Linked DNA regions of Homo sapiens: all the other regions are linked to region 4. The links are contacts of gene promoters, found by promoter capture Hi-C in human tissues and cell types (Jung and others, 2019). All regions are on one chromosome and are shown on one strand. Each heading gives the region's core, a stretch centred on a gene start or on the middle of the fragment in contact. The rest is flanking DNA. Distances are from core to core; before and after follow the strand shown. Region 1 overlaps GPC6 (glypican 6). Region 2 overlaps GPC6 (glypican 6). Region 3 has its middle 140 kb from the start of LINC00363. Region 4 holds the start of GPC6 (glypican 6). Region 5 has its middle 87 kb from the start of LINC00363. Region 6 overlaps GPC6 (glypican 6).

What was found. The method cuts DNA at HindIII sites, captures the fragments that hold promoters and counts their contacts. A contact is called where the count stands out against the background at its distance.
Region 1: a fragment that was not itself captured here is called in contact with the fragment with the promoter of GPC6 in region 4 in 2 of the 25 tissues and cell types used here (aorta and dorsolateral prefrontal cortex).
Region 2: a contact is called between a fragment that was not itself captured here and the fragment with the promoter of GPC6 in region 4, in 1 of the 25 tissues and cell types used here (mesenchymal stem cells).
Region 3: a fragment that was not itself captured here is called in contact with the fragment with the promoter of GPC6 in region 4 in 2 of the 25 tissues and cell types used here (IMR-90 fibroblasts and mesenchymal stem cells).
Region 5: a contact is called between a fragment that was not itself captured here and the fragment with the promoter of GPC6 in region 4, in 2 of the 25 tissues and cell types used here (aorta and heart right ventricle).
Region 6: a fragment that was not itself captured here is called in contact with the fragment with the promoter of GPC6 in region 4 in 1 of the 25 tissues and cell types used here (mesenchymal stem cells).

The regions. Positions count from the first base shown.
Region 1 is chr13:93,614,350-93,618,135 of GRCh38, forward strand. The region is part of intron 2 of GPC6 (glypican 6); the gene reads left to right. Among named protein-coding and RNA genes, the nearest start is that of GPC6-AS2, 240 kb to the right of the region's middle. RefSeq lists an enhancer at 954-1,458. The HindIII fragment of the contact is 3,957 bases long and covers 1-3,272 here.
Region 2 is chr13:93,553,750-93,557,560 of GRCh38, forward strand. The region is part of intron 2 of GPC6 (glypican 6); the gene reads left to right. Among named protein-coding and RNA genes, the nearest start is that of GPC6-AS2, 300 kb to the right of the region's middle. The HindIII fragment of the contact is 9,916 bases long and covers 1-3,811 here.
Region 3 is chr13:92,903,117-92,906,619 of GRCh38, forward strand. No RefSeq gene overlaps it. Among named protein-coding and RNA genes, the nearest start is that of LINC00363, 140 kb to the right of the region's middle. The HindIII fragment of the contact is 5,647 bases long and covers 1-3,503 here.
Region 4 is chr13:93,225,079-93,228,956 of GRCh38, forward strand. It overlaps GPC6 (glypican 6), which reads left to right and starts at 1,729. Exons shown (of 9, transcript NM_005708.5): 1 at 1,729-2,538. The coding sequence starts at 2,379. RefSeq lists an enhancer at 2,322-3,164 and a silencer at 3,218-3,512. The HindIII fragment of the contact is 15,285 bases long and covers 1-3,878 here.
Region 5 is chr13:92,956,264-92,960,120 of GRCh38, forward strand. No RefSeq gene overlaps it. Among named protein-coding and RNA genes, the nearest start is that of LINC00363, 87 kb to the right of the region's middle. The HindIII fragment of the contact is 5,357 bases long and covers 1-3,857 here.
Region 6 is chr13:93,596,707-93,600,310 of GRCh38, forward strand. The region is part of intron 2 of GPC6 (glypican 6); the gene reads left to right. Among named protein-coding and RNA genes, the nearest start is that of GPC6-AS2, 260 kb to the right of the region's middle. The HindIII fragment of the contact is 3,659 bases long and covers 1-3,431 here.

The DNA.
Region 1 (3,786 bases), core at 44-2,543, 390 kb after region 4:
AATATGGTCAATGTCGTTGAATGGTTAAGAACATGGGTTTACAGATGTCTAGGTGCAGACTCCTCTACCACATGGAAGGGCAAATTACTTTACTTCTATGTATCTCTGTTTTCTCATCTGCAAATCAGGTGTAGTAATAGTAACTAGCTCCTTGGGTGGCGGTGACGATTAAATGAAGTGAAGAAACCATGGCTGGTACATAGTAAGCATGAGCTCAGTCAATGTGAGATGTGGTTTTTGTTAATATGAAATAGCTATAGCCAAAGTCCCCAAATAGTAACTAAAACAGTATAGTATTATCAATCCCCCTATATTTTTTTCAAATTATATAATTGTTTGATATTTATCTTTTATTTATTTACCCAAAAGGAAAGGGTGCTATAGAAGATCTCTTAGTAAAATACTGAAAAGTAAAGAAAAATACACCATTCAAGCATAACACGTTTTGTTTAGAAAGTTAAAATATTTAGCAAAGACAGAATATGTTCCTAAATGGAGTGAGGAATCTTGTCCTATTTGTTTTATTTTTTATCTTGCTCATTGCTTTTTTTTTCCTCTGAGTATACTTGGGTTGATGATCTGCTTTCTATTTATATCATTACTTACTATGTACAATTTAATGTATTAGCCATCATGATATCATGGGTATGAATAAGGTCCTGGATTCCTCACACATTTCCAAGTGCAGACTCCAGCTGAAACAGAACAAAGATTCAGATGTTTAATAATATTGTACAATTTTTGTTTTCTTTAAATTTTTTCTCAAAAGTTTACTTTCTAAGAAATCAGTGTAGACCAATAAAAGTTTCCTGTGGTGGAATTTGGTTGGTATACTTCCTAGAATTTAACCCTAACCAGGTTTTCTTTCAAAACTACTGAGAATCATTTTATTTACAAATAACAATTATATGAATTATCAAAGAATTTTAAAATTAACATAACTTTGTCCAAAGTCAGTGTCTCTTCCTGTTATAAAATTACTTGATCCTATTAAGAAATTCTGAATTGCAACATCTGTTTGTTTTTGTTTATCCCTTTTGTCGAGAGGATTCATGCCATGATTTTCTTATTACATTTTTAATAGATATTCAGTGAAAAAGGTAACTGATGCCAGGCAGTTTATGTATCAACCACATCTATCATGCCTTTTCCTCCTTTGTCCTACCTATTCAGTTGTTAATGGGCTATTTGGGCAGCAGCCACACAAACGCTTTCACATAGATCACGCATCAACATAGTTATCCTGGAAAAGAAAACACCTGAACTATTTATTCACATGGCATTTTCCTTGAAATTTCTAGAACAACTTTTTGTGAATAAGGACCTCAATCTACCCATTTACAAGATGTGTTGTATGAGCTGTAAATGTTACTGGGGTGTTGTGAGTACAGACTTGGCCTTGGTTCCACAGTGTCCCCTCACTTTCTCTCTAAGCTTTTTCATTTATCAATTCCAATCGCCAAACTCAGATACTAAAAATTCTAAAACTCTCTGAAAATACTTAATATGTCTGTTGCAATGACTACATGAGCTAACATGGATAATGTGTAGTGCCTGGCACATACTGCTCACTCAGTAGTAACTAAACTAAAACAAGAATTACAAATTGGGAGGCAGTGAAATCCTGATTTCTTCATTTGTATACCTAAGTATTTGAAGAAGGATTCTCTCAATGTAAATATGTACTTGTACGTATTTAAGAATACATATGTGTTTTAATTGCTTTTCTTTACCTAAACAATTTGTCTCTTTAGTCTGTCCTACTTTCACTGTTTGGGGAAATAGGTAAGAATTTGTATTAAAATCCCTCTCAGAAAGGCTATTCTATTCTCATTTTTCCTTTTAAAGAACAAATACAGCTAACTAGCACATTCAAAATAAAAAATTGAATTGTTATGTAATTCAGAATATAAATAGGAAGACTATAATGAAATTTTGGGGAACAGAGGATGTACGAATACTTTAATGGAAATTTATTGGAGATGAGAAATTATGAAATTCACAGTCTTTACCATTCAAAGGGAAGTTGTTCATCTCTTACAATATGTGCGATTAGATCATTGATACCAGTTTGTTTTTTCAACAGAAACAATCACCTTAAAACTTTACATTCGGGGTAAAACACATCTGGTAGAAAAATCAACTTAGTTTCATTGTTTAGGGTTCCAATTAGATGATTAAATACTTTCTCTGGATTTGCAAGAGTCAAAGAAACAGGTTACACAGAGGGTAAGAAAAACTCCTTCCTGTTAATAACACAATGTTAGAAGGTCCCTTACAATGTAACTAAAAAATGCTCAGGCAAGAACCATCCTAAATAATATATCAGTCATTTCTTGAAGTAGCAAGTGTTGCCTTAAAATAATGTTTTATGAATACCCATAGATTAAAGAAACACAAACAATTCCCACAACCAATCTGTGAACACATTTATGAGGTATGTAGAGCTAGTTATGAACATTCAACACCATTGACGTGCTCCTTTTTTTTGAATTATAAGTAATGATTAACTTTACTAAAATGCCTATGATATCCTCTAGTGTGTGATCACTTAACCAAAAGGAAATAACACATCATTGTCAGGTTTCATACTTTACAGTTTGTTTTTTCTCCTAAGATGGATTGAATGTTTTAACCTCCTTTAAACTACATTACCTTTAAAAACATTGTAATAATCTTAGGTTCAGAACTGGAACTGTTTGAAAGGCATGCCAGAATTAAAGTTATATTTAGGCCACACCAGAAGAGCACAGAGGTTACTGGAGTAATATTGAGGATGATGATAGGAAGACAAAGAGGAGAAAAAATCCTGTTGAAGATCTTAGTGATACAACTTCCCCATTGCTAATGATTTGCCAAATAATTGCTATTCAATTGTTACTTAAAGGAAATTTATAATTAGAAGGAATATTAGATATATAGCCCAGGAGTTTTCCAGTTTCTTTATTTAGTTGTGTAAATCTAGAATTAACTCTTTAAACTCTGTAATGGAGCCTTTGTCTGCCTCATTCATCTCTCTATTTCTGGCAGCTAGAAAAGCTCTTAGTACAATGACTGCTCAACAAATACGTGTTGAAAGCAATGAAGAGAGAGATATAACTTAAATAGATAAAGCAACATTTTTCTGATCAGAGCAGGTTGAGCAGACCCATCTGCATGGTAGCTCAGAAGCTTTCTGAGGATGTTAAGAAGCCCCCTCGGACACACATACATGAAACTCTGTGCTCTGCAATTTGAAAATCACTGGGTTTAATTCTCTCATTTTATGTATAAGAAAATAAAGCTGTCTTCTGGAATCCCAAGTTTCAATATATATTTTTGTAGCTAGGTACTATGTATTTATGGGAGTTGGAAAATAACATTCTATGATAAGCTTATGGGCCATTTTGTTTTCAGAGAAATTATTTCAGGAAGACAAATCATAAGAGAATACTCTATAACCTATTTGCTCTGAATCTAAATGGTTATAACACATGCCTTAATAATTTATACTTCTAACAAAAATATGTAATATTCTTTCAAAAGTCAGGTGTGTTATTCCTTACATATACTAAAAACAAATCATGATTACTGTAATTAAATGTAGGAAATAGCTTGCTGCCCATCCATTATTAAAAGGAGATTTGTATTTCCCATAAAAAATTTAATCTGGCTCTGGTTCTCTAGGGAAAAAATAATGTAGAGAATATACATGGACATACATACAGGACTGTACAAAATGTAAAAGCAAACATTTACCTTTCCTCCATGTATTAGAAAGCTGGCTAATGTTTGTAAATTACCTAA
Region 2 (3,811 bases), core at 951-3,450, 330 kb after region 4:
TGTTGAAGCTGGTTGATGAGTCTTTAGGGAGTTCATAGACTATTCTGGGTTGTGTATAGTTTCTGAATTTCCATAATAAAGAGATTAAAAGAGAGAGAGAAAGAGAGTTGGCCAGCACAGTGCCTCGTGCCTGTAATCCCACACTTTGGGATGCTGAGGTGGATCACCTGAGGTCAGGAGTTTGAGACCAGCCTGGACAACATGGTAAAACTCCGTCTCTACTAAAAAAAAAAAAAAAAAATACAAAAATTAGCCGGGTGTAGTGGTGCAGGCCTGTAATCCCAGCTACTCAGGAGGCTGAGGCACAAGAATCGCTTGAACCCAGAAGATGGAGGTTGCAGTGGGCCAAGATTGTGCCACAGCACTCCAGCCTGGGCAACAGAGTGAGACTCTGTCAAAAAAAAAAAAAGAGAGAGAGAGAGCTGACTTGAACATACACAGGACTGAAGATATCCAGACTGTGAATCCATTGTACATACGGAACAATGTCAGCGGTTGTTACTGCTCTCAATTTTTGTATATTCAACAGTAAATTATACAGAGCACGTCATTTTCAAATTGCAAACCTGAACACAACCTATAGGATTTTGACTCAATTCCAGGCTACTTAGCTTATGCTCCCATCCAATATTCTATTATTATTGCGCTGGAAATGACATCTCTAATCTATCCACATGAACAGGCCTGTTAAAATGAGGCTTAATCTTTAAATCTCCTTGGTAAGTGTGATTGAATTTGTTAAACTTTTGTTTGTAAGCCATATGGACATCAAAATAAGGAAAATATCCAAACCCGAACTTTGGCAAGATTCAAATGACAGTGTAAAGTGTTTATTATCAAATGCATTACAAATAACATTTCCATATCATTCAGTAGTCACTCGGTGATTTTTCACTGAATGACCAACATTGACATGAGCTCCTGGGGTTTGGCATTTTAGCAAATGTAAAAAAAGAGGTAGCTGGCCTAAGCCGTTTTCTGTCATTCCAAGCATTCCCTTAGACAAGAACAGGATCCTGAACCCAAATGTGAAGGAAGAACCAGTGCCCAGCTAAGAATAACTGTGCATGGTCCACAGTGCTCAGATAAATTTTTAAAAATCACTCATCACAGTTTCAGAATGTGCCATTTGTTATTCTTGCAAAAGGTTTGCTATATTCATTAAACGAACAAATATTCTTGGGAAAACTATATATAGTAGTTTACAGTCTTCACACTGTTTCCTCCCTTCCTAGCAGTCCAGTAGAATATAAACGACTTGAACATGAAAAGCAAACTTTGAAGTAAGATAGCAGGAAATCGGGGCTCCAAGGCCTTTGAATGTTGGAAGAAATTGGATTTCTCCACGTATTTTGTTTTATTTTTTAAAATTTATTTGCATGTTTTCTCCTTTTGAAAGAATAGTTCTGTGGTCATTACAGGATTTAGTTCTCTCAGTCTTCCTGTCTCTTTCTCCTTAATGCTTCTAGAGTTGACATTTTATCATTTTCACTTATTTAATGTTCTTGTAATAGTATTCTTCTAAAAACTATGATCCATTGCATATTCCCTGTTGAAGTCTAAGCTCATTAAGTTCAGAGATTAGGTCTCCTCTTTCTATTTTATCTTCCTATACCTGACTTAATATGAAGTATATTTAATAATGCTGCAGTGTTGTGTGACAATGGTAGCAACCTGTGCAGTCTCAAGGGCACAGACCAGTTAAATGAATTACTTATATTCCTATAATAATTATGACAGAAGAAAATAGGGAACCTTGAATTCTCATTATCCATTAACTCTTAGGGTCCATAAACCTGGAATTCATATGTGATATCAGCAGCATTGGTTCCAGTGGATTTAATGGAACTAATTTTAAATTCCCCGGACAAAGAGTGCCTTTACTTAGAGTAAAGCAAGTAGAGGTTCTTATCATAAAAAACAGGATAAACGTGTTTTTCTCCATTGCAAGTATGCACATATGCACAGTCACACACACAGGCGTGAATAAGAAATGTTTAAGATGTCCATGAATTTCCTGGAGAATCAGTTAATATACAGATTGCTGGGTTCAACACCAGAGATGACCATTCTTTGGTCTGGACTGAACTCAGAAAGGATCTCCTGTTCTGAAGCGAGTGTTCTCTGCTCCACCACACTTAACACTGGCTTACGTGGAATTGAGAGGTTAGTTAGCAGGATGTAGAGCTGGGGCAAAGAAATTTGACAGAAGTTTTTGAATCTTTCTTCTGACATATTAAGGTCAGCCAGTAACAGGCCTCCATATCTAAGGTGGCATTCAAGAACCTGTTGCCCGTCAAATAATGACTTTTATATGTTAACTAAGTTACCCCTTTTTCTTTTCAATTTTGACAGTGAATTATACAATTATACCCAAGATCAACAACTCATTTTAACTTTTGCAGATGTATACTGTGGATTTTTGCATTTTTAAGTTTATGAACTACACAATTATTATCCTTTTTCCATTTATTTTCTAGTTCATAAGGACCTAATGTGTGTTTATTTTTCACAATTGGTAAAATACTTTTTAATTTTTGGGTTACTTTTTTTTGCTAGGATGATATGTTTTGAAGCGCAGTATCTTATTTTATTTTTTTATTTTTAATTTTTGTGGGTAAATAGTGTGTGTGTGTGTGTGTGTGTATGTATGTATATGTATATATATATATATATATATATATTTTGGGGGTACATGAGATGTTTTGATACAGGCATGCAGTGTGAAATAAGCACATCATGGAGAATGGAGTATCCATCCCCTCAAGCATTTATTCTTTGAGTTACAGGCAGTCCAGTTACACTGTAAGTTATTTTAAAATATACAGTTAAGTTACAGTTGACTATAGTCACTCTGTTGTGCTATCAAATAATAGGTTTTATTTATTCTTTCTATAATAATTTTTTTTTTAACCTGTTAGCCAGCCCCACCTCTCCACCACTCACTCGCTGCCCGTCACTCCCCTTCCCAACCTCTGGTAACCACCCTTCTACTGTGTCCATGAGTTCAATTGTATTTATTTTTAGATCCTACAAATGAATGAGAACATATGATGTTTGTCTTTCTGCGCCTGGCTTATTTCACTGAACATAATGATCTTCAGTTCCATCCATATTATTGCAAATGACTGGATCTCATTCTTTTTGTGGCTGAATAGTACTCCATTGTGTAACTATATTTTTTCATAGCACACTTTGATTCAAACATAAGGTATGGTTATTGTAGAAAACTTGTATAATTTAACTTTAATGTGTTAAAGGATTAAAATGACTTTATGCCTAATTGAAGGAAAAGTGCCTGATCTCTAAGGAATCTGGGATAAGGATGTAATGTAAAATTATTAATATTTGGTGTCATGAAACTTTATTCAAATAACTTCTGAAAAAATAAAATAAATTGGAAGTCTTAATTCCTGTGTTAAATAGTTTATAATTATAAAATGAAAAGTAGAATACAGTCTCTGTGAGCATGAGGGAATTTCCTATTTTCTGGGTATAATATTCCCTCCACACATACTTTATGATATTTTGTCAGTACAACTTCGGACTGCTTTTTCCATAATTGAGTTGGTTGTCTCTATTTAGAGTACAAGTAGAAGCCTACAGCAATATAAATCTGAAGATCTGTGTAATATATTATGATTGATGTTAAAAAAAATAGGTTAAGGAAGTACTTACGTAAATTCTTCCATTAAGTAATGATTTAAGCAAAGTAGAGATTTAAGGAAGATAAAAACATACAATAAGAACTGTTTAAAATGTTCTTCTTGACCACTAGTCCAAGGTTTACTGACTTTGTTCCCTTGATCAT
Region 3 (3,503 bases), core at 360-2,859, 320 kb before region 4:
TGATAAGTTTTATCTTGAAAATATTTCTCAAATGAGTTTTATGACACATAAAATACAACTTTTAAAAAGATTTTTAATTAAAGATTACTTTATAAAATATATTCTGCAGAAAAATACCATTGGCCTGGTATTAGACACATGGCAAGTGAATCAAATATGTGAATATATACAAAGAATAATTATTTTATGTAATTATTTAATAACAAGGTAAACATCACAAGAGTTTTATATTTGTTTTTATTTCTTAGTTTATTTAATAACAAGGTAAACATCACAAGAGTTTTATATTTGTTTTTATTTCTTAGTTGTTTGTTCTTTGAGGCTTTTTTTGGCTGTAATGTGCATGATTATATATTTAGACTTTTAGGAAAAATATTTTTCAAAGTGTTTTTTGAATTGAACTATATTAGAGGGCCACCAGTATAGTAAAAGCCTATTTATATGTCAATACATAAATGTTTCAAAAAAATGTTGTGGCTTAATTTTTCTTAGCATTCCTTTTTGCCCTATAAAACAATGGTCTATGGGTTTATTTTAAATTACATTTTACCTAAAAAGAATAGTCATATTTTGAATCCGTGATGAAGAGTGACATGCTCTTTCTCTCTAAATTCATTTTCAATAATTGACCAAAATGTATTATCCCAATGGTCTGTAGTAGAGACTGAATCTCCGGAACATATCCAGGATGGTAGAAATTCATGAAGCAAGTGAAGGAGGATGAAGGTGGGACACAGACACACAAGTTAATTGCTAATTGCTCTAATTGGTTGCCATCTGTCAGATGTTACCATTTTCAAGCTACCAATATTGATGTCATGTTATTTCAGATTGGTATTTAATGAATCCATGAAGTGTTTCCATATGTGCTTTCATCCCTAAAGAGTGATGATGATGTTGGCTCCATGTACCTCATTTATAACTTAGATTTTCCACTGTGCTCTAATACAATTACTTTAGCAGTTTGGAAATATGCATTGTTGTATGGAAAAAAAAAAGTGGTTCAATAGATAAGACTTTGGTGTCTAGATTTTTAAAGAGGTCATACTACTTTACTATTAATTTACAAAGAAGTCCTAATTAAAAGAAAATCTGATTTTTCCAGAGCATCAACACCAATCATTTCAGAGGAAATTCTATTTGCCAAAACACTACAAATATTAGTTTCCATAAAAGAGAGAAATTGCGTCATAAATGAAACAATATAATTGATAAAGATGTTCATTGAGAGAAGTTATTCATAAGAATTTTTTTTCTCATGGGATTCTTTTTCCTTCCCAGTTTTATTAGATATTTACCTATGTAGAAATATCTGAAAGTTACTTGATAGGAAAAAGATTCAGTTAGTATCTGAAGCAGGAATCTTTTATATGTAGGCCTACATGCATGTAAAATATCAAAGAAAAAAATTTTAAGTACATTCAATTAAATGAACCTAATCTGTATTTAATTTAGAAGGGACATCCCTTGACATTAAAAAGGCAATGTTTAAATTCCTATCACTTATGGACACCTACTGTCAAATCATTATTTAAAAGGAATTATTTGTGTAAACAAAAGCATAAAATAACTGGGAAACAAAAGAACTAGAAATAAACACATATGCCAGACTACTACCTTTTTTTAAAGATAATGTTTACAAAAATTAATAGAATATACCAGCTTCTGGCCAGACATGCAAAGAGCTTCGAAGTCCTCACTCCCATCCTCATAATTTTTTTTTCAAGTGGAATGAACCAAAACCCAACAATTTTTAGATCCATCAGAATATTCAGGTCACAGAGCAAACCTCTGACCCAAATTTGGAGAGATGGGCAAATATAGAGAATCATATTTTACTTGGAGTAGAAGCCTTGCTGGAGGAGCAACTGGGAAGAATAATTTCAATTGACTAATGGCTGGCAACTGAACATGGACTGGCTTGAGAGAGAAACATTTCTGGGGACCCAGTCTCAGGGGAGTACCCATATTTCCATGAGGTTCCATGAGAACCCCAGCAGGCTCTCACTGTAAAGAGAAAAGTCCCCTAATACTTTAGTTAGGGGGAGGTAAAAAGTAACCATTGTGTCATATGCCCAAAGCTTTGTCTTACACTTAAAAAAGGCCTTTCCTTAAGGAAAACTATTTTACCAGAGCTTAACCCATTTGGGTTTTTCCATACCCAAATTGACCTCAGGAAAGAAAATACCTAAGCTCCAGTCCCATCTAGTCTTTGAAGTGAAAGAACGAAAGTGCTCAACTCCAGCCCCTTCTAGCCTTTCTGCCCCATCCAAGGGAGTGAAGGTAGGAGCTGAGAAGCACTTGAGAAGGTCACATCCCAAGTACCCAGCCTCGCTAAAACATTGAAACCTAATCAAAGGATTATAAAACACTTCCTGCTTTCCATGACTTACCACCACATCAATAGGGCTACTGAATAATAACAGGATTACAGCTGAAAGAGCTGAAAGTATAAGACACTACTTAAGAAGGAATCTCTAGGGAAAGCCAAAGACAGCAATGGAGATAAAAAAACAAGGATCCGAGAGGAAACTTTAGTCTCTGACAGTACAGCCACAGTCAAGAGTAAACAGACCTATACTTCTAGCCAGGTAACATAAAACTTCAAAACAAAGGCCTATTTACTTAAGTACCTTATTCTATACATCATATCCAGCTTTCAACAACAACAAAAAATTGTGAGGCATGCTAAAAGGCCAAAAACACAGTGTGAAGAGAAAAAGCAAAGATCAGAAAAATACGCAGACATGGAAGAGACTTTGAAATTGCCACTGATAATTTAAAATAACTATGAATAATACGCTAATGCCTCTAATGAAAAAGTGGATAACAATCAACAACAGATGGGTAATGTAAGCAGAGAGATTAAAAAAAACACTAAGAAAAAAATTGCTAGAAATCAAAAACACTATAACAGAAATGAAGAAGGTATTTGAAGGGTTCATTAGCAGAATGAACATGACTAAAGAAAGAATCAGAGAGCTTGAAGATTTGTCAACAGCAACTTCCCACTGAAAAATAAAGAGAAAAAAGAATTTAAAAAAAAACTTAGTAGCTATCTAAAAAACTGTAGGACTACTACAAAAGGTGGAACATACATAGAGATACCAGAAGGAGGGGAATGTGGGAAAGGAGCGAAGAATAATTTATAATAATAACGATTGAGAATTTTCCAAAATTAATTACACATACCAAATGACAGACCCTAGAATCACAAACACCAAACAGGAAAACAAAAAAATTACATCTATGTTTACCATGTTCAAAATATAGAAAATCAAAGACAAAGCAAAATTTTAAGAGAAGCCAGAGGAAAAAATACATCTTATTGGGAGACGAACAAAGATAAGAATTATACTGGACGTCTCTTCAGAAACCATGCGAGCTAGAAGAGAGTGGAATGAAATATTTAAAGTTTTTAAGGAAAAAAAGCAACTAGCCTAAAAATCTGCATCCAGGAAAATTATTCCTCAAAAATGAAAGAGAAAAAAAGGTCTCAAATG
Region 4 (3,878 bases), core at 479-2,978:
TTCCTTTACCTCCATTTAAAATAATGAATTATCTGCTATACTGAGTCAGGGTAAATTACAATGAGTCCCAGGATAAGGTGGTAGGACAGGAAGTGTGTGTTTTTACCCTCTTCCTCTGGAGTGCATAATGCTTTACTATGATACAAAGAGAAGTTTGAAGGAAGTCACGTTGTCAAATATGACAGAAGTAATAACTTGACTGCAATTCCTGAGCCTATCAACCTCACCGTTTGTCCACAAACATAACCAGAATATATTTTATCTTGATTTCCGACTTGAGGGAAAATAAGTTCAGTGATTTAAGATCTGCCAGTTAGCATAAATATTGTGAAAGCAAAAAACTGTGCTAAAATTTTAAGAGAAAAAAAGTTAAGTGTGTTGCGTTTTCAGAAAGATTTAGCTATGGAGTTTTTTTTTTTGTTTTGTTTTGTTTTTTTTTTTTTTGGTTTTGTTTTGTCTTGACCTATGAGTTTGAAGAAGACAAAGTGGCTCTGTAAATAAGTCGACTTCATTTTTAAAGCGTTTGGAAAGGTTAAATGAGGTTGAATCTTGAGAGTCTTTTTGGTGGTTAGGAGAGGGGGAATTTATTAAAGAGAGGAAGACAATGTACCTAATATGTTGTGATGATAATGACAAACTCAAAGATTTAAACTTCATGAGTCATTCTGGTCATTCATATCATCATCAGGAAAACATCTTCATGTGTAGCTTCATAGGTGAGCTCCACAAAACTGTGCATTACCTTGTAGTAGTTTGTGAATAATGTGCTGACCTATGACACATAGCCACGTAAGTGAATAAACACTATTATTATTATTATTTTGTCTTGGTTTTCATTAAACTATCTTAGTAGTTTCAGGAGCTCTGGGTTTCAACACACACTTCTGCCAGCTGACTTTAGTGCGTCCATTAGCATAACAAAGTCAATTAGGCAAACCTGAATTTTCACTTTTATCCCGTTCACAGAACATCAGTGTAAATGGAGACAGGAAGAAGAAATTGGATTGATTCTCCACTTGAGAATTATGTTAACTTGGAAGAAAATGTTAAGTCTACTATGTGAGGGCATCTAGTGAGAGGGAAGGAATCACCTCCCTTCCCCCATTATGTCCCTTTATGCACCTCTGACCCTTGTGCTCTCCTTTTCTTGTTGCTTCTGTGGTCTGGTTGTTAGCTTTCCCGATCCTCCACACATTAGAAACCTAAGCATAATGATTTCTGATCGAAGGCTATGAGATATTTGAAATAAAAAAAGGGGAAATTGTTGAGTCTAGAACCAAACCTTTAAAAATTAAGAACTACCAGTCTGTAATGTGTGCCTTTAGAAAAAAACAAAGTCAAACAGAAATTAGGCAACTAGTTAGAGCCGTGATTGTGCTCTGCCACCCATGAACTCCCGTCTATGACTATTTCCACTCTGGCTTTGTGTTTCAGTAGGTCAGGGACACATATTAAGAGCAACAATTGGAACTGCGTTATCCTTTACCTCCATAAAAATACAGCTTAATAACATGTTAATGACTTAAAATTACCTTGTCTTTCTAGATTGTTTATTGATGTCATTTCAGATCGGTATAAAGGATGTGAAGTGAATAAGAAAATAGGTACGTTTCTTTTTCTTTTTTTCCCCTTTCTACCGACTAGGAAGAGATCCAGTCCAGGTTTTGCCTTTGACTCGGCCTGTGAATTTCGGCTGTGCAATGTGTAGCACGTTTCTTTCTCCCCCCTCCTTTCTCCTTCCCTCTTGCCTCCAGTGACTGTCTCCAGGATTTCTCTCTTCCTATTTCAGGAGGACTCTCACAGGCTCCCACAGCCTGTGTTAAGCTGAGGTTTCCCCTAGATCTCGTATATCCCCAACACATACCTCCACGCACACACATCCCCAAGAACCTCGAGCTCACACCAACAGACACACGCGCGCATACACACTCGCTCTCGCTTGTCCATCTCCCTCCCGGGGGAGCCGGCGCGCGCTCCCACCTTTGCCGCACACTCCGGCGAGCCGAGCCCGCAGCGCTCCAGGATTCTGCGGCTCGGAACTCGGATTGCAGCTCTGAACCCCCATGGTGGTTTTTTAAACACTTCTTTTCCTTCTCTTCCTCGTTTTGATTGCACCGTTTCCATCTGGGGGCTAGAGGAGCAAGGCAGCAGCCTTCCCAGCCAGCCCTTGTTGGCTTGCCATCGTCCATCTGGCTTATAAAAGTTTGCTGAGCGCAGTCCAGAGGGCTGCGCTGCTCGTCCCCTCGGCTGGCAGAAGGGGGTGACGCTGGGCAGCGGCGAGGAGCGCGCCGCTGCCTCTGGCGGGCTTTCGGCTTGAGGGGCAAGGTGAAGAGCGCACCGGCCGTGGGGTTTACCGAGCTGGATTTGTATGTTGCACCATGCCTTCTTGGATCGGGGCTGTGATTCTTCCCCTCTTGGGGCTGCTGCTCTCCCTCCCCGCCGGGGCGGATGTGAAGGCTCGGAGCTGCGGAGAGGTCCGCCAGGCGTACGGTGCCAAGGGATTCAGCCTGGCGGACATCCCCTACCAGGAGATCGCAGGTAAGCGCGGGCGCGCTGCAGGGGCAGGCTGCAGCCCTCGGCTGCCGCACGTCCCACTGGCCGCCCGGCGTCCCCTTCCTTCCCCCTGTTGCTGAGTTGGTGCTCACTTTCTGCCACCGCTATGGGACTCCGCGTCTCCGTGTTGGGCGGCGGATGCTCCTGCGGCTTCTTCGGCGGGGGAAGGTGTGCGTCTCCGCCGCCTCATTGTGTGCACACGCGGGAGCACCCTGGCTCCCGCCTCCCGCTGCTCTCGCGCCCTTCTACCCCTTAGTTGATGGCTCAGGCCCGGCTGGCCAGGGAGCCCGGGTCACTCCGGGGCGGCTGCAAGGCGCAGACGGAGAGCCGAGCCGGGCGCTCACTCCGCGTTCTGGTTCGGGCAAACTTGGAAGAACTGCGACCGCAGTTTGCCCAGCGCCACAGTCTGAGTGGCGCCTTCTCCACTCCCGCCCTTGCGCCGGCAGGGGCGGTGGAGAGACGCGGAGGGCTCCCCCAGCCCCTCTCTCCCCTATCCGTCCTTCGGGCGACAGAGCGCCCGGCGCTCGGGCCGGGGGCGGGCAAGGCTGGGAGGGACCCTCGCCGGGGACCTGGCCTCTGGACGCCGGCGTTTCAAGGCTGGTTTGGGGACTTCACGGGCTGCCTGTTTCAGATGTGGGGCGGGCTTTCCCGTTAGGGTTCCTCAGTGCTTCCCCAGTTGCTGTTGGCCACTCAGGGCCCGGGGACACCCTGCCACCCGGTCTGGAGCCGGCCTCGTCTGCCAGCGAACAGCCAACTTTAGCGGGTGGCTCAGCTGGGGATTCGGGTCCGGGTTCGGGGGCCCCGTGTCCCCCGCATGCCCGGCCACTGGCATTGCTCCACCAAGAGCTTGAGAGCGCCCACCCTTTCTCTCGGCGCCAGTGTGTGTAGCACTTGGTCTCCGACAACTTGCGCGGCAGTCTGGGTGCTTGTTTTCCGGCTCTTAGCTCCAACCGAATCCGAGCTTCTCTGGGGCTCTGTGAATGAAACGTGTCGGGGAGAGATAATCCTTTGGCTGCTAAAGAACAGAACTGAGAGAGGCCGAGGGAGGCCAGGAGATGCTGCGAGGGCGCGGGCTGCTCAAACCGGGCAGCTGAAGTCCTTAGTGACCTCAGATCGTCAAGTCAAAACGCTGAATTTCCACCAGCCTCTGTCTGCTTTTTGCCAAATAACTGGTGGATGGATGAAAAGCATTTTGCAGATATCTTAGAACATCACAGTTTCGATACGTTGAGGAATTACTATTTTCTTATGATTTTCAAGCTGTAGAAGTGAGGGTTTTTACTTACACTGAAATGAACACATTTAAATAAATTTGAGCATTGGCA
Region 5 (3,857 bases), core at 344-2,843, 270 kb before region 4:
TAGCCAGGCTGGTCTTGAACTCCTGGGCTCCAGCGAACCTCCTGCTTCAGCCTCCCAAAATGCTGGGGTGCTGGGATTATAGTCATGAACCACTGCAGTTAGCTCTCCTCCCTTTACTCTGGAGTCCAGGTCTTGTCTCTTCTATGTTGGCCCTATGGCTCATTTGGGTTCACTGAGGTAACATGAGGCCACTGAACTGGGAGCAGAAAAAGGGCCTGCTGAGAACATTCCCAGCAGCCCAAATTGCTATTGATAGGGAAAAATGCAAGTGGCATAAAGAAGAATACTTAGGAAATATTTTTAATTATAAAGTTTATTTAAGGATATCTACAATGTTGAAACCTCAAAGTAGGGTTTAACTTAGAAGAGATATCCTCCCTGATGAAAAACCTCTAATGCTTAGAATCCAATAACAACTCTGTGGTATTTTGTCTTTCAAGGCCCTGTATGATCACATCTCACCTACCATTCCCTTCCTTGGATCACCACACTCCAGATGCACTAACTTTTTGTATTCAAACCTGCAAGTACATTCCAACTGAAAACTTGCATATGTGCGTTCCCTCTGCCTAGAATGCCGTTTGCCCAAAGCTTTATTTTTTTATTTCACTTATTACAGCCTATATTACTTTGCCTCTTTATTTATTTGCCTGTTTCCTTGCTTTCATGTCTGCAGACTCATCAATCTCCTCCCACTAGAAATCAAACTCAATTTGATCAATGACTATAGTAGATTGTAATAGTGGCCACAATTACTGTCTTCATTCTACCCATTCTCCTTTTCAATGTGACTTTGCACCAGCTCCCATCAGCAAGCTTATTCTATTTCTCCACCCAATAAATCCAAACTAGCCTTAAGCCTACAAAATGCAGAGGAAATGAAGTTATGCACATCCCTATTCTAAGCCTCAAAAAACCTTGCACAATCTACATCATGTCCTGGAGCATTTCCCCAGAGTTTTCTTCTATGAGTTTTATATTTTCAGGTCTTAGATCCAAGCCTCTAGTCCATTTTGATTTGATTTTTCTGTATGGTGAGAACTTGGGGTCTAGTTTCATTCTTCTGCATATGGTTATCCAATTTTCCAAGTACCACTCATCAACAAAATTGTCCTTCAGCCATTGTACGTTTTGATCTTTGTCAAAGGTGAGTCGTTGGTAAATGCATGGATTTATATGTGGGTTCTCTATTTCGTTCCGTTGGTCTATGTGTGTGTTTTTATGCCAGCACTTTGCTGTTTGGCTTACTACAGCTTTGTAGTACATTTTGGAATGAGGTAGTGTGATGCCTCCAGCTTTGGGGTTTTTTTTGCTCAAGATTACTTTGGCTATTCAGGGTCTTTTGTGATTTCGTTACAGGTAGTTAGACAGGCATAAGCAGAACAGGAGAGAGCTCTTTCCCCACCCACCAGGAAAGTCAGGCGATCATCAGTATGGTTTGGCAGTTATCACATTGCCTCTCTAAAAATGATAATTTGGCTGCTAGCACCAGGGAGAGACAATCTCCTGGTGGCCCACAGCTGTCACATTAAAGTGTTCATTGAATGCAGGGACCAGGGAGAATCAACTTCCCAAATAAATAAAAACACTTGAAATCGGTAATAAAATCTCAAGTATTGGGAAGTGAGCCTGGGCATGAGCATTAAGAGACAAAATGGGGGAGTATGATCTTTTTGGGAGCATTCCACCTGAAAAGGGAAGAAAGCCTCAGATGGGCATGCATACAACTTCCTAAACACACTGCTCATGCTCACTTCCCAAGTGTAAGGAGGACACTGCACATGCGGGCAGCCCACCCTAAGGGAAGAATCATGGGAAAGAGGCACAAGACACCAAAAGTGGGCCAGCATATAAAGTCCTAAGATCAAGGTTAAATGCCACACTTGATCTTCACAGTGCCCACTTGGGTCTCTTCCAAGTGTACTTTCCTTTCTTTCCTGCTCTAAAGCTTTTAAATGAACTTCCACACCTGCTGTAAAACTTCCCTTAGTCTCTTTTTCTGCCTTATGCCCCTCAGTCAAATTGTTTCTTCTGAGGAGGGAAGAATTGAGGTTGCTGCAGACCTGAGTTACTGGATTCACTGCCAGTAACTCAGGTACCTTCCACCCCTAACAGTTTCATATAAATCTTAGAATTTTTTTCCTATTTCCATGAAGAATGTCAGTGGCATTCTGATAGGGATTGCATTGAATCTGTAAATTGCTTTGAGTAATATTGTCATTCTAACAATAATAATTTTTCCAATCCATAAGCATAGAATATCTTTCCATTTTTTTTTGGTGTCCTTTTCTATTTCCTTCATCAGAGTTTTATAGTTTACCTTGTATAGATCTTTCTCTTCTTAGGTAAGATTGGTTCCCAGATATTTTACATTTTTTGTAGTTATTATAAATGGGTTTGCTTTCTTTATTTCTTTTTCAGATTGCTTGCTGTTGGCGTATACAAATGGTAATGATTTCTGTATGATAATTTTGCATCATGCAACTTTACTGAATTTGTTTTTCAGTTCTAACAGCTTTTTGGTGGAGAATTTAGGTCTTTCTAGGTATAAGATCATGTTGCCTGCAAATGGGCTAATTTGACTTCTTCCTTTTCAATTTGGATGTTATTTATTTCTTTCTCTCATCTAATTAGTCTAGCCTCATCTAATTTTGCCAGTGAAGGCCATAGACATGTGAAAATACCTAGTCAATAAACAGCAAAGCTGTCTATCCTCTCTGCGTGCTGCTGAGCACAAATGCCTAAAAGAGTTAATTTAAAATCTGCCAAACCTGGCCCAGATCAGCAAAAATGCTCAGCTGACCTATGAATTTATGCTTATAATCTCTGAATAGTAAATAGTACTGAATGTTCAATCTGACCTTGTAATCTTATTATATTAGTCTGTTCTCACAGTGCTAATAAAGACATACCTAAAACTGGGTAATACATAAAGGAAAGAGGTTTAATGGACTCACAGTTCAGCATGGCTGGGGAGGCCTCACAGTCATGGGAGAAGGCAAAGGAAGAGCAAGTCATGTCTTACATGGTGGCAGGAAAGAGGGCATGTGCAGGGGAACTCCCCTTTATAAAACCATCAGATCTCATGAGATTTATTCACTATCACGAGAGCAGCATGGGAAAAACCCACCAACATAATTCAGTTACCTCCCATCAGGTTCCTCCATAACATGTAGGGATTATTACAATTCAAGGTGAGATTTGGACAGCGACACAGCCAAACCAAATCATACCACCTCTGGCCCCTCCCAAATATCATGTCCTCACATTTCAAAACCAACTGTGTCTTCTCAATAGTCCCCCAAAAGAGTTAACTCATTTCAGCATTAACTCAAAAGTCCACAATCCAAAGTCTCATCTGAGACAAGTCTGTTCTGCTTATGAGAGTGTAAATTCTAAAGCAAATTAGTTACTTCTTAGATACAATGGGGATACAGGCATTGGGTAAATATACCCATTCCAAATGGGAGAAATTTGCCAAAATGAAGGGGCTACAGGCCCCATGTAAGTCTGAAATCCCACAGGACAGGCAAATCTCAAAGCTCCAAAATGATCTTTTTTGACTCCGTGTCTTGCATCCAGGTTATGCTAATGTAAGAGGTGGGTTCCCATGGTCTTGGGCAACTCCACTCTGTGGCTGTGCACGGTGCAGTCCCCCTGCTGGCTGCTTTTACAAGCTGATGTTGAGTCTCTGAGGCTTTTTCAGATGCACGGTGCAAGCCGTCGGTGGATCTACCATTCTGGAGTCTGGAGGATGGTGACTCTCTTCTCGCAGCTCCACTAGGCAGTGCCGCAGTAGTGACTCTGTGTGGGGGCTCTAACCCCACTTTATCCTTCCATACTGCCCTAGCAGAGGT
Region 6 (3,604 bases), core at 352-2,851, 370 kb after region 4:
TGTGTATACACATATATAAGTGTATATGCATATATATATGTGTATATATGTATATGTGTATATATACACACATACACAGGTACATACATATAGATGTGTGTATAAATATATATAATTACGTGTGCCTGTATATATATAAAATTTATAATGAAGAATTGGCTCGTGTGATTATGGAGCCTAAGAAGTGCCAAGATCTGCAGTTGGTAGGCTGGAGACCCAGGAAAGCTGATGGTATGGTTCCAAAACAAAAGCTAGCAGCCTTGAGACCCAAGAAGAACTTATATTTTAGTTCAAATCTGGCAAAAAAAAAAAAAAAAAAAAAAAGAAAAGAAAAGACTAGTGTTTCAGCTCAAGTAGTCAGGCAGTAGGAATTCCCTCTTATGGTTCTATCTAGGCCTTCCACTGGTAGATGGAGCCAACCCGTATTAGAAAGGGGAATCTCCTGTACTCAATCTATTCCTTCAAATGTTTGTCTCATCCAGAAAAGCTCTCATAGACAAATCCAGAATAATGTTGGATCAAAGGCATAGGCACACTATGTCCTAATCAAGTTGACACATCACATGAACCATCACAGAGCATCATTATAGAGATATCAGAGCAGACCCTAGTGAATGCCACAGATAAAATCTCCTCAAGGCTGCCTTTCCCTATGGTGGTGTGAAGTTACACATTAGCACTGTAAATGTCATAATACATCTCTATTAGATAGGATAGCTGAAAGAACTAAGAAGGTGAGGGAGCTGTCTGACTGGAACCTGGGCCCCCTTCCATCTACCTTTGAGAAGTCAAACATTTATGAATTACAGTTGACCCTTGAGCAACATATGTTTGAACTGCAGAGGTTCACTCAAACACCAATTTTCTTCCACCTCTGCCACCTGTAAGACCGCAAGACCAACCCCCTCTTCTTGCCTCTCCTTAGCCTCCTCAGCGTGAAGACCTTTATGACTGTCCACTTCCACTTCATGAATAAGTAATATATTTTCTTTTTCTATAATTTGTGTAATAACATTTCTTTTCTCTAGCTCACTGTATTGTGAAAATATAGTACATATAATTTTAAAAAGTGTTGATTGTTCGTCTTATCAGTAAGGCTTCTAGTCAGCAGTAGGGTTTTAATAGTTATGCTTCTGGGGAGTCAAAAGTTATATGTGGGCTGGGCGCGGTGGCTCACACCTGTAATCCAAGCACTTTGGGAGGCCGAGGCAGGCGGACCAGGAGGTCAGGAGATCGAGACCATCCTGTCCAACATGGTGAAACCCCATCTCTACTAAAAATACAAATATTATCTTGGTGCGGTGTTGCACACCTGTAGTCCCAGCTACTCAGGGGGCTGAGGCAGGAGAATCACTTGAACCCGGGAGGCAGAGGTTGCAGTGAGCTGAGATCGTGCCACTGCACTCCAGCCTGGCAACAGAGCGAGACTCCATCTCAAAATAATAATAATAATAATAAATAAAAAAGTTATATGTGGATTTTTTACTGTGTAAGTGGTTGGCATCTCTAACCCCCACAGTATTCAAGGGTCAATTATAAAACTTAATGGTGATGTTAACACATCGAGTCCAGGCTTGTTTCTGTGCATATCATGATGTCTCTGTTATGAATACTTAGGATGTGTCCTGTTTTCAAACCATCTCCACCTTAGAAATCTTTCACTTTGTTACTCTTCTTCCTCTTTACATTCAACTAAGAGATGGGACTCAGGTGAATTAGTACAACTTTAATTTCAAGTGAGTGCCTTCACATTAAGTTTCCATTAGCCTTTCACTTAATGAGTATTTTCACGTACATTGTCACATTTGATCATTCAGTGAGGTATGGGGTGAATTATATGAAATTGCTGATATTTGACCATTGTGGAGTCACAAAAGCAGCAATTTTATGTGGTTGAATATGGCATTATTAAACCTACTTTTGAGATGCAGAAAAGTGAGGCTTAAAGCAAATGTGACTTAAAAAAAATCATAAAGCTTTCAGCAGCAGAGCTAAACTAAGTCTCATGACTGCAAAATTCTATGATTTTCCCATATTGCCACTACTGAACTGGCAGCCAGCCACCCATTTGTATTTTCCTTAATACAAGTAAATGCTAATTCAAATAGGATGAAATTAATCTGATATTTTAATGACTCAAAACTGTAGATGTTAATAGCTTTCTGTTATTTTGTTTTTGATATGGTTCCCATTTCTTTTTCTCACCAATGAAGAATAAACATTGAGATTCTGAAGTCACCATAATTTTTGGTCACCACTGTGTCTGAGACACCTCAATTTGCAACAGTTCTACTCTTCATACACTTACTTAGAAATTTTCAAAAATCTTGAAAGCTTTAGAAATCTTTGAGTGCAAAGAATCATCATGAGAACATATAAGGTTAAACTGTGATTTCGTTTTGATTGTGTTTACAATTATTGAAATTATACCGAAAAGTTCCTTGATACCTTCCAGCAATCTTTGCTGAATATACGTGCACTTTGGAAAAATGGGTCCCTGAACTATTTATAGATATACATATTTTATTGATTTTTCAAGCTTCATTTTGAGATATTACTTAGAAACTGCCAAATATTGGTAAAAAAAAAAAAAAAGAGACATCAGAATCTTTATAAAGTGACCAAAAGTAACGTTGCTGAGATTTGTTGGCAGCTCAAATCCAACTATTTGCTTATAGAGATCTGTTTTCTTATAAATAAAGCTGATCAGGGAAGCATGAAATTTGAGAGCATTTTCAGGGCCCGTTGGAATTGAAGTCACTACATTCTGCTTACTCTTTATGATCTGGCTTCTGTGATTTGTCTAAAAAATGTGGAAAAGGAGTGAGTTCAAGAAGAAGCCATTACATGGTCCTGCCTGAGTTATTTGTAGGTTATAATGGCAGCTTGTAGGGTCACAGATGGCCTTAGGAGGGGGGAAGCAGAGAGGGAAATAGCTCCCCAGCCCCATGTAGTGAAGATAAAGAATGTCTTCATAAGGTTTTATTTTTTTCACTGTTACTGTTTTTTATCTTTGATTGATAAAAATGAAAATGCCAAAATGAGGGTTAGCTTAATTTAAAGTATAAGCGTAGTTAGCAGCTTTTTCTAATCACTCCTGTCCATTTAAAAAATAATCCTCATAGGAGTATAAACAGAGGAAGGAGAAATGGAGGATGGGCTTAAGAGAAAGAGTATTTCACAAATGTCTGCATAGCAAATTCAATTCATCTACCTAGTAGCTCCTTCCATGTTAACCTACAGGTGTTCTCCCCTCCAAAAAAAAGCATCTTTTAGGAAGAAACCACCTTAACACTACCTTTAGAAGATTGAACTTCCAGGGATAGGTTGTTTGAGAGAATCACCAAAAGCCATTTTTAATGAATTTTTAAATTACGCTTTCTCATTCTTATAATAGTGTAGCAGCCACCTTCCATCTACTATGTAACTTATAACAAATAATCAAGTACTAAATTGAATAAATACTGTTATTTATCTTGTCTGGGCTAAACAGAAAGAAGAAATAAAATACAGTTACTAAGCATCAAGGATCACAGGACCTTCTATTCCAGTCTAGCAGAGGAAATTTACAAGATGCTAAGTAATTAATGCTAAGTGGCATGTT